Linked DNA regions of Homo sapiens: all the other regions are linked to region 2. The links are contacts of gene promoters, found by promoter capture Hi-C in blood cells and fetal thymus (Javierre and others, 2016). All regions are on one chromosome and are shown on one strand. The core of a region is centred on a gene start or on the middle of the fragment in contact, and the rest is flanking DNA. Distances in the headings are between cores, read along the strand shown. Region 1 overlaps CAMK1G (calcium/calmodulin dependent protein kinase IG). Region 2 holds the start of IRF6 (interferon regulatory factor 6). Region 3 overlaps LAMB3 (laminin subunit beta 3).

Region 1 (3,482 bases), core at 649-3,148, 210 kb after region 2:
ACAAATAATTATCTGTTTCAAAATGTCGACAGCATCATGGTGGAGAAGTCCAGCCCTACATTACCCTTGTTTGGGGTTACTCAGAGACTGAGTCAAGCAGAATAATCATATTAGCAGAGGGGCTCGGCTTGCCAGGCAGCAATGCTGTGCCTGCCTGTAAAGGAGGAAATTCTCTAGGAAGTTTACTCCTGGCTGTGCAGCACAGGGGTTAAGGACTTAGGCTCAGAGTCAGTCAGGCCTGGGTTCAGATCTAGCTCAGGCAATTAGATAACTTCAGCTGGCTTATTCCAGTTTTCAAATCTTTACTTTCCTTGTCTGAAAAGTATGTGTCTCTTATAGAATTGTATCAGGATAAAAGGAGATAATGCATAATGCTTAATACAGTGTCTGGGTAATAGTAAACACATAATCAATAGTAGCTATCTTCTTTACGATATTTTAGAAAATATAGACCTGTGTCAGTTGTCTCTTGATGAATTCAACTATACTCAGAAGCTGGCAATGCTAACATTAATTTATCAATTATTCACTCAATGAACAAACATTTATTGAGCACAAATACTGTTGATACAAGGCAATAATAAGAAAAATGACATGGTCCTTGCTCTCAATTAGTTGAGAGTCTTTCTTTGCCCTAATATCCCTGGATCCTAGACCTGTGTCTCCAGCATGTTATGAAATGCCTTCATGTTGAGATAGGTGGATACTCATATTCAGTATGTTCCAACCAATTTCTTTCTATTTCATCCAAGCCTACATATCCTCTTTGTTCTCCACCCCTAGCAATTATATTGTTGTCCACTTGATTGCTCAATCTCAGGGTCTCTTTTTATGCTTTTGTCCTGTATACTTTCACTAGTCAACCCCAAACCCAATCACTTCTCTCTTTGAAACATCTCTAGTATCTAGTCCTTTTAGGCACATATGATTCTGCCACTACCTTTGCTTGTATTCTCAACCCATGCCTAAATTATTGTGAAAGTCTTATAATTAGCCTCCTGTCCTCTAGGCTGGCACCCTCCAATCCATCCTCCACTGTGCCTGAGAGGGATAGCTCCAACATGTTAATCAGACAATGTGACTCCTCACTTAAAATCCTTTGATGACTTCTTTTTGCCCACAGAATAAAGCCAACATTCCTTATCATGGCATCTAAGATCCTTTGTAATCAGGTCTCATTTCATGATTTTAGTTTCATCACTTGTCTTTTAATACTATATACTCTAAATTCAGGGATTTCCAATACTCACTCTTCCCTAAAAGCCCTTGCACTTTCATGGTTCTACATTAAAGTTTATGCTAGTCTTGGCCTGAATTCCCTTTCTGCATTGCCTTTCTTGCCCCCACAAAGTTTGACTCATCTATCAAGGTCCATCTTCTTTGAAAGTGGTCCAATAACTCATACTCATAAAAACATATGCATAGGCAAAATGAATCTTTATCTCCTCCAAACTCTGCCTTCTGCTAGTGTGACTCACATCCGATTTTGTTGGATTTTCTTATAGGCACCTCTGTATCCAGCATAGGCTCCTGAGGGTAAGGAATTTTGTCTGCCTCATCCTTGTGGTTCTGATCCTGTGTTCATGTGCCTAATACACTTTTGGTACACCATAAGGGTTTCACAAGGGTCTGTGGTAAGAGTCTTGCTGTAAACATATGATGATTTGTAGTGTTGCCTTCATCAAGATGGTTGGGGTGCTGAACCTCCATTTGCTTTGTTATAAATTGAAGCTAATTTCCAAATCTTATGCTGCCTCCTTAATTATTAATTGTTCCTGATGTTGGCCCTCAATTGATTTTTGTTCCTTTGAGCTAATTACTCTCCAGCCTGTGTGCACAAACCAGTTCTGCCACCAGTGGATTTGCTCATCAATTTGTTGCCAAAAAAAAAAAAATCAGCTAGGACAGCTGTCCGACTAAACTTAGCTAATTGACTGAACTGACCCATCAACTCAATCAAAGTGAGCAATGCCTTTGGGTGCAGAAATCCAGTCCTAGTCCTTTTTGAAGGTAATTTGTGAAGAAAATGTTGTGATCCCATAGTGATCCAGTCAACACTAAGACCCACTCACTTTTTCAACACAGCAATCTCATTCTCCAGGCTGCTGTCCCGGAAGGCAGGTGACTTCTTGATGCACTTCAGAGCAAAGAGCTTCCCAGTCAGTCTTTGCTTCACCAGGAAAACTTCTGAGAAAGCTCCTCTGAGGAGAAGACACCAAAAGATAAAACTTAGTAGGGGGCAGACATCTTACACTTCCAGATGTAAGACCTCAGAAAGGACGTAACAGAGTCTATATAGTCCTCTGACCACAAAGGCATATACTGAATTTAAATCTGGAAGAAACATCAGGAAAGCACAAAATTTAAAAAAGGGAAGGGGGGAACCTGTATTCTTCCAAAATGCCAATGTCATAAAAAAGCTAGGGAGAGATAACACCCAAGTGAAATATCAGACCCTAGACTGGAACCTGTACTGGAGGGGAAAAATGCTATAAAACACATAATAGGGTCAATTGATAAAACTGGAGTAGGGAAGACAGACTAGGTACACTTAATGTGTCCATGTTCAATTGACTGAAGTTGAGAACTGTCCTATGGTCACGTAAGGGAATACCCCATCCCTAGAAATATACACAAATGTCCTTGATAGGTAAAGGTTCATGATGTCTGTCCACAACTAACGCTTGGGAGATTAGGAAAGAATCATCTTTCTACATCTATCTCTACAGATCTACAGAGAACATAGCAATGAGAAGGCAGATGGGAGAAATTGTGAACAAGAGGTGAATCTGGGCAGGGGGCATTTGGAAATTCTTTCTACCATTCTTATTCTTATTTTATTTTATTATTTTTTTAGAGATGGGGCTTCACTATGTTGCTGATCTGGTTAGGCTTTGTGTCCCCACTCAAATCTCATCTTGAATTATAATCCCCATAATCCTCATAATCCCCATGTGTCAAGGGAGAGACCAGGTAGAGGTGATTGGCTCATGGGAGCAGTTTCCCTCATGATGTTCTCAGGATAGTGAGTGAGTTCTCACGGGATCTGATGGTTTTATAAGGGGCTCTTCCCCCTTTGCTTGGCACTTCTTCCTGCCGCCTTGTGAAGAAGGTGCCTTACTTCCCCTTCACCTTCTGCCATGATTGTCAGTTTCCTGGGGCCACCTCAGCCATGCTGAACTGTGAGTTAATTAAACCTCTTTCCTTTATAAATTGCCCAGTCTCAAGCTGTTCTTCATAGCAGTATAAAAATAGACTAACCCAGTTGCCCAAACTGGTCTTGAACTCCTGGGATCAAGCAGCTCTTCTCCTTTGGCTTTCCAAAGCGTTGGGATTACAGGTATGAGCCACCAAGCCTGGCGTTATTCTTATTTTTGAAACGTTTTTCTAAGTTTGAAATTATTTCCAACTAAAAAGTTAAACAATCAAACTTAGAGGCAAAGTGAAAGGGTAGATGAGGGAAGGACTGATAATTACTCTTC
Region 2 (3,367 bases), core at 557-3,056:
TTGCAGCTAGCTGTCTTCTCTTTATGTCTCTTCATATCACCTTCCCTCTGTGGGTATCTGCCTCTGTGTCCAAATCTCCTCCTTTTATAAGGACACCATTCATATTGGATTCAGGCTCACCCTAATAACCACGTTTTAACTTGATTACCTCCATAAGGATCCTGTCTCCCAATAAGGTCATATTCTGACATCTGGCTGTGGTTGCAGTGGGGGTGGTCAGGACTTCAAAATACAAATACAAATTTTTTTGTATGTGGGTGACAGTTCAACTCATTGTACCACTCCTCCACAGTTTCTCACTCATTACTTTAAACACCAAAACCTAAGTGACCTGCGCATGCCCCATTTCACCTACGACAGCTCAGTGGTTGAGGGTGGGGGATTTTTAAAAGTCTCATTTACTGTTGCACAGCCTCCTGCAAACCGGTCCTCTAGATAGATGAGGAAGGTGAGGGCAATCTCATCAAGCACCTGTTAGGGTACATGCAGGACTTGAATTTCAGGTAATAACAAGGAATGCCTTCTTGTTCTCTGACGCACTGTCTATATGGTATTTTTAATCTTTATGCCAATAATAATTGCAAGTACATATAAAGCACTTGATAAGTGCTAAATATTGTTGCAAGCAGTTTACATGTAGTTATTGAATTCCCACAATACCCCTGAGGTAGGTACTATTACTAACCTCTTTCTACAGATAAGACACCAGGGCCTAAAAAGCTTAAGAAACTTTCCCAAGTCTGTAGTAACTGATGGAGTTGGGGTCTAAACCCCAATAGTTGGCTCCAGAGGCTATGCTTTTACTCATTACACGATAGTGATCAGAGGAAGCAGGAACTCCAGTCTGGGCAACATAGTCAGACCCTGTCTCTAAAAAAAAAAAAAAAAAATTAGCCGGGCATGGTGACCCATGCCTATATTTCCAGTTACTTGGGAGGGTGAGGTGGGATAATTGCTTGAGCCCAGGAGGTTGAGCTATGATTGTGCCACTGCATTCTAGCCTGGATGACAGAGCCAGACCCTGCCTAAAAAAAAAAAAAAAAAAAAAAAAAGGAATTGAACTGGGTGCCAGTGCCTGTAATCCCAGCACTTTGCGAGGCTGAGGCGGATCCCTTGAGCCCAGGTGTTGCAGACCAGACTGTGTAACTTAATAGCAAGACCCCATCTCCAAAAAAAAAAAAAAAAAAAAAGGAAGAAAAAAGAAAGAGAAAAAAGCAAACAACAACAAAAAAGAAGGAAGGAATTATTATTCTCATTGAAGAGATGAGGAAACTGAAACCAAGAAGCCAAGAAGCTAAGTAACTTACCCAGGGTCACACGGGTAAGAGGCAGAGTAAAGGTAGAATTCTAGTCCTGAAAGCCTATGGCTTCTCCCAGACAGGACCAAGTGTCCTGGTTCTCTTCTTCATGTGCAACTCCACTTACACAGGCCCACGAGTAGTAGGGCCAACCCAGAATCTCAAAACCCTTATTTGTGCTTAACTGTCTGCATACTGCAGGGTAATTATGGGCCGTGAAGGAGGGAGGCACCCTCTCGACTTAGATCTGAACTCCCAGTCGCTTCCAGTTCCCAGGACCACCAGCCCTGAGCCGTAAGGCTAGGCCTGAATCTGGGACTTTCTTAGCCGGAGTTAGAAGCGGAGGAGTAGGGTGGGACGCTGGACGGACGCCGCTGGGCCGGGCAGCCCAGAAACGCGGAGTGTCATATTTCTTGCAACTCGCCAATCCCGAACGCCGGGGGGCGTGGCCACACCTGGGAGGCGTGGCCGGGCGGATGCGAAGGCTGCGGCGTCCTGGGGCGAGGCGCTGACGTGAGCTCGGCGCACCTGGGCTGGGCAGGTAAGGGCTGGTGCGGGACGGGGAGAGGAACCTGCAGTCCCTACTTGGGTAGAGCCAGGCGCCCCTTGGCTAAGACGTCGAGGAGCGTGGTAGCGACGGGTGATCTTCGCTGCGGACTTGGTTCGGAGGGACGTCCGCTTCTGGTGGACAGATTGAGCAAAGGTGGGTACGCCAACTTCTGGGGACCAGCTTGAGGGAGGAGAGGCTCCCCCGTGGGTGGGGTAGGACCCATCCCCGGAGTTTGTAGGGGGTGAGAGAACTTGCTTGGGGGCATCTGTGTGTTTGGGGTGGGTACCCACTGGGGCTGGGTGCCTGTCGCCCTTTTCCAGATAGCTTTGGGGCGGCCTCAGTTCTGTAGCGCTAGGCCCCTCTCGAATCTACACTTGTGTCTACTCTCCCTACCCCCACCGCCGAAGCGGAGGGCACTGCTCTCGGCCGTCAACAACCCCACTATCCGGTAGAGCTAAAGCACCGCGCCCCCTTCAGTCTTACCAACTTGCGGCTGGCCCCTGTGTCCCAGAGAGGGGACTTCCCAGGTCCGCAGGTCCTTGATCCTAGTGGGCGTTTTGGGAAACTGGAGTGAGGGTGGCCAGGAGCTTTGGAGCATTGGCGGTTTGTCTTCCCTCCCTGAGTCTGTTTGGCACAGTTAGGCCCTTCGCCCTGGGCCTGGGAGACAACCTTGGATTTCCAAGGAGCGGAGCTAGGTGCTGGGGAGGGTGGCGCTGGGGTGTGGTTGCTCTGGGGGTGGGCCCTCTTTGCCCGAAGGGGCTGGAGGGTGGTGTGGAGAATGGGGAAAGTCTCCCAGGCCTGACTTGGAAAGGAGGCCTGAGGTGTCACTCTTTACAGGGAGCCTGCTTTGTGGTAAAGGGGTCATCCTGTTCCAACCTGTTCTCTTGGTGGATGTCAAGAGTGGAAGTCAGGGAAAAGAGATGGATAGAGAGAGGAAGGCGCTTGGGTGGGATTGGTGAAAGCTGGTGTTGACCCAGGAGTGTGGTTTAGGATGAGACGTGTGTATGATGTATGACAGTGGCACTCAATACCTTGTAACTCCCATTCGCCATCCCCCAGCTTCCATCCAGCAGAAGGGAAGGGTGTGGGCATTTTGACTAGAGGCCTGCAGTTTACCCCTAAGCAGGGCTAAACAGGGAAGCCTGAGGAACGGAACTTAGACGATGGCATTTCATTTCTTTCAGGAGAAAGGGAAGAGCTGGGACTGCTAAGAATTGTCTGCGAGAAATGGCGTGTGTTTTAACCTGAGCAAAACCACTGACGGCCAAATCTCGGCTTTTGTGTGGCAGTGCCCCTGGAAACTAGTCTGGGGAGGAGCTATGGAGGTGGCAATGAGGGTGTTTATGGAGGACCTGCTCCCTAGAATAGGGGTATGGGAGAGGACAGTTATGCTCGGAGGAGGCTGAAAGTGTCCCTCCTCTATGCTCACTGTGAGGGGAATAGATAGGTTAGCATCATTGTCCTTTGGCTGTTTAAGTACCTGTTAGAGACACAGGCCTTACATTTTGCTGTGATGGCA
Region 3 (3,566 bases), core at 319-2,818, 170 kb after region 2:
GTTCCAGGAAGTTGTTCAAGCTGGGAGCTGTCAGCATAAAGACCACATTTAAAGCCACCCAAAATGGATGAAATCATTTTGTAGGAAGGAGCAGGGACTCAATATGTCATGCTAAGGTGCTCAGTTTATATCATGAGATCAATGCAGACTGATTGAAGCTCTCACAGATCAGATAATCACCCAGGAAGAGCTCTCTGGTGAGTGGGGAATGTGGTTTGGAGGGCCATGACAGAGGAGGCTGGACATGAGTTCCAGGAGAGAGACAGAGAGAGGAGAGAGAGAGAGAGAGAGAGAGAGAGAGAGAGAGAGAGAATAAAAAATGGTCAACTGTGCGAAGTGTAGGAGCAGAGAAATGTCTATCCTGGAAGCCTGGTGAGCTGAGCTAGGGATCACTCCTGGAAGGCAGATCCTGGGAGAAACTTCTGTGGCCTGTGGTATGCCAGGAGGTTTGGACCCGGATGCTCCGAGCCCACTTGCTCCCACTGGGCCCCCTTTCTCCCGAGTTCACTGGAGGAGCCTGTCTCTCTGCTTGTGTCTCCACGGGGCACAGCCCCAGTGCCTCCCCTCTGCACACTGCCCCTGTCTCCACAGGGGCCCATGCCCGCCGGCATGCTGATTGAGCGCTCCTCAGACTTCGGTAAGACCTGGCGAGTGTACCAGTACCTGGCTGCCGACTGCACCTCCACCTTCCCTCGGGTCCGCCAGGGTCGGCCTCAGAGCTGGCAGGATGTTCGGTGCCAGTCCCTGCCTCAGAGGCCTAATGCACGCCTAAATGGGGGGAAGGTAGGTAGAGGGAATCCTGAAAAGTAGGCCTGGGGAGAAATCCCTGATGTCCCACTGTTCACACAGCCACACGGACTCCTGAGAAGGGACGGAAACACCCTCGCCAGCTCCCCTTGCTGACTTTCCTGAATTCCCACCAGTAATGACCCCTGTGGCCACCCTCAAAACATTTGCTGCTTATCCTCTTTGCTGAGGAAGGATATTTCAGCAACACCTTGGGGCCACCGCATTACTCACCCCTGCCGTCTTCCACAGCCCCCTCCCCCGTGACTCATTGGCTCATCCCTCTAGTGGGAAGATGAAATCGACCCTACTTTGATATGAGGACTTTGGGATGCTAGTTAGATGCAAGTGAGCAAATTACACAAATTTCATTTCACCTTGGTAGGGTTTAACACAAAAATAAACATTTTCAGTTTAATCTATCCATCTAACCCAGTCTTAGCCCTTGGAGGGAATTCTGGTAAACCCAGAGCCCGAATTCTCCTGAGCTTAAACCCTGAGCTAGAAATAAGAACCTGCCTGAAGAAAAACTCAGAATGTTTCTCCCTAAGTCCTCCCAACGTGGGTCAAATTCTTTCATAACTGCGTTTCCCCATCCCCTGGCAGAGGAGGCTGTAGTTTCTCTTCTCCTTTCCCTGGCTGAGACACAGGTGAGCCCTCAGAGCTGCTCTCATGTGGACCGATGCTCAGAGTGGGGCCCTCTATGCAGGCCATGCAACTCTTCCTTTGGTTTTAGCAGTTCCTCCTTGGTTATACCCTTACGCAAATCTATGTTAACTACATTCTTCACACACCAGATAAGAACTTTTTCCTAACTTGTGGAGGGCTGATGTGAAAACTCTTCCTGGGATATGTAGATGATGAGTGGATTTTTTTTTTTTGAATAAATCAAAGCATAGTTGAAACTGGGATTGTCCAGAGTGCTGTGGTCACCCACATTCACGCATCCTTGGGTTTTAGATTTCTCACTCATCCTGAGTCATCAGAAAATTAGTATCTCCTAAACCCTTATATGTAGATGATATATCTTACCATACTTTTTGACCCAGGGAACTCAGAAAATTCTTAGGATACTTATATTTTCAACTGGCAGGGGTTGGGGGTGGGGTACACACACACACACGTTTAGGGCCCAGTGATCATCTTTCTCCCCCACAGCAGATGACAAGCCTCATAGCCATGGTCTATCTCAGGTTCCAGGTAACAAGGACTTCAAGTGTGAGGCATATAATGGAAAGAAAGGTTTCTTCTGAACTCGGGGCACACTATTTGTCTCTTCTTCAGCGCTTCTCTTTCCCTTCCCTCTGTAGGTCCAACTTAACCTTATGGATTTAGTGTCTGGGATTCCAGCAACTCAAAGTCAAAAAATTCAAGGTCAGTGTGGTTACTTCTCTTGTCCATGGAACTATGGGTGGGAAAGGAAACAGAGTTGGAGCCCAGGTCATGGAAATTTCCTGGTCTTTCATGTTTTTGTCAACGTGGTTGGGGATTTGATACTTGCCCTGCTTGCCCCATAGGGATATTGTCTGTGGGATGCTATGGGATGGTTGAGGTCTGGAGAGGATGGCCCACGGTATCACATATGAAGGAGACTCTATGTGCCTCTAACTTCCTTTCTTTATTTTCCATTCTCCAACTCTTCCCTCCTTGCTGTTTGGCCCTCTCAGAGGTGGGGGAGATCACAAACTTGAGAGTCAATTTCACCAGGCTGGCCCCTGTGCCCCAAAGGGGCTACCACCCTCCCAGCGCCTACTATGCTGTGTCCCAGCTCCGTCTGCAGGGGAGCTGCTTCTGTCACGGCCATGCTGATCGCTGCGCACCCAAGCCTGGGGCCTCTGCAGGCCCCTCCACCGCTGTGCAGGTAACAGCCTAGGGTGGGAAGGGGAGAGGAAGGGGGCAGGACCAGGGCAGACTACAGACATTCTTGGGGCTCCTGTAAAGCAGGAAGGGCACTAAATCTAAGACTTGGGTATTTAATACTTCAGCAGCAACAACAAAAAATCGAAGTGGTTTTCGTTCCAAAAATCAGAATCATTTAGTACTTCTTTAGATCTGCTTCCTAATTTGAGATGATTTTCATTTCATTTACATAAGTGTGGAAATTGGGAGGGAGTTTAAGCCAATGATTCTCAACCCTCGTTATGCATTATAATTTCACTGAGAGCTAAAAATGTTGCCCAGCCCTCCACCCTAAGATATTCTAATTTTATGATTGGCTTTTAAAGCTCCCAGGTGACTCGAATGTACTGCCAGGTCTGAGAGCCACTGGTTTGGGGATTTTAAAGTCTCAGCTAGTGGTGAGATATGGGGCACGGTGAGAGACCAATGTTTAGTACAGATGCTAAGTCTACCCTAGACCAGGCGGATTGGCTTCAGCAGGGATGGGGTTTGAGACGTTCCAGTTTAACAAGCCCTCCCCTCCCAAGGGGTTTTGCTGTGAAACCAAGCTTGAGAACCACAGGTAGAGAAGAGAGAACCTTGAGCAAAGAAGCAGAGGGACCCAACATGGGAGCGTGACAGCTGTCCTAGTGACAGGGGGACAGGAGGAAATCATGTAAGATGGCCTGAGTGGGAAATAGAGGTGGCACAAGCCTCAGCTGGCATTCTTCTTTCCACTTCTGGGCCAAATTCTGCCCCAGGCTGCAGAGGTGTACAGAGGGAGGCCAGCTCAGGGAGTGTGTCATCTGTCAGGGCCCATGAGACATACTCCTAGAACCCAAGGCTGAGTGACACAGAGGGAATACAACATGCTATGACATGACGAGGTGGGAGGGAGCCAC

What was found. The method cuts DNA at HindIII sites, captures the fragments that hold promoters and counts their contacts. A CHiCAGO score of 5 or more calls a contact.
Region 1: a contact is called between a fragment that was not itself captured here and the fragment with the promoter of IRF6 in region 2, in 1 of 17 cell types (naive CD8 T cells). The highest score is 5.7, in naive CD8 T cells.
Region 3: a contact is called between a fragment that was not itself captured here and the fragment with the promoter of IRF6 in region 2, in 1 of 17 cell types (neutrophils). The highest score is 7.6, in neutrophils.

What each region holds. Positions count from the first base shown.
Region 1 is chr1:209,598,702-209,602,183 of GRCh38, reverse strand. CAMK1G (calcium/calmodulin dependent protein kinase IG) reads right to left here. Exons shown (of 13, transcript NM_020439.3): 3 at 2,073-2,201. Among named protein-coding and RNA genes, the nearest start is that of CAMK1G, 17 kb to the right of the region's middle. The HindIII fragment of the contact is 4,679 bases long and covers 1-3,482 here.
Region 2 is chr1:209,804,581-209,807,947 of GRCh38, reverse strand. IRF6 (interferon regulatory factor 6) reads left to right here and starts at 1,806. Exons shown (of 9, transcript NM_006147.4): 1 at 1,806-2,001. RefSeq lists a silencer at 1,541-1,884. The HindIII fragment of the contact is 4,987 bases long and covers 723-3,367 here.
Region 3 is chr1:209,631,664-209,635,229 of GRCh38, reverse strand. It overlaps LAMB3 (laminin subunit beta 3), which reads left to right. Exons shown (of 23, transcript NM_000228.3): 6 at 592-783; 7 at 2,097-2,160; 8 at 2,454-2,647. Among named protein-coding and RNA genes, the nearest start is that of MIR4260, 9.9 kb to the right of the region's middle. The HindIII fragment of the contact is 3,335 bases long and covers 1-3,235 here.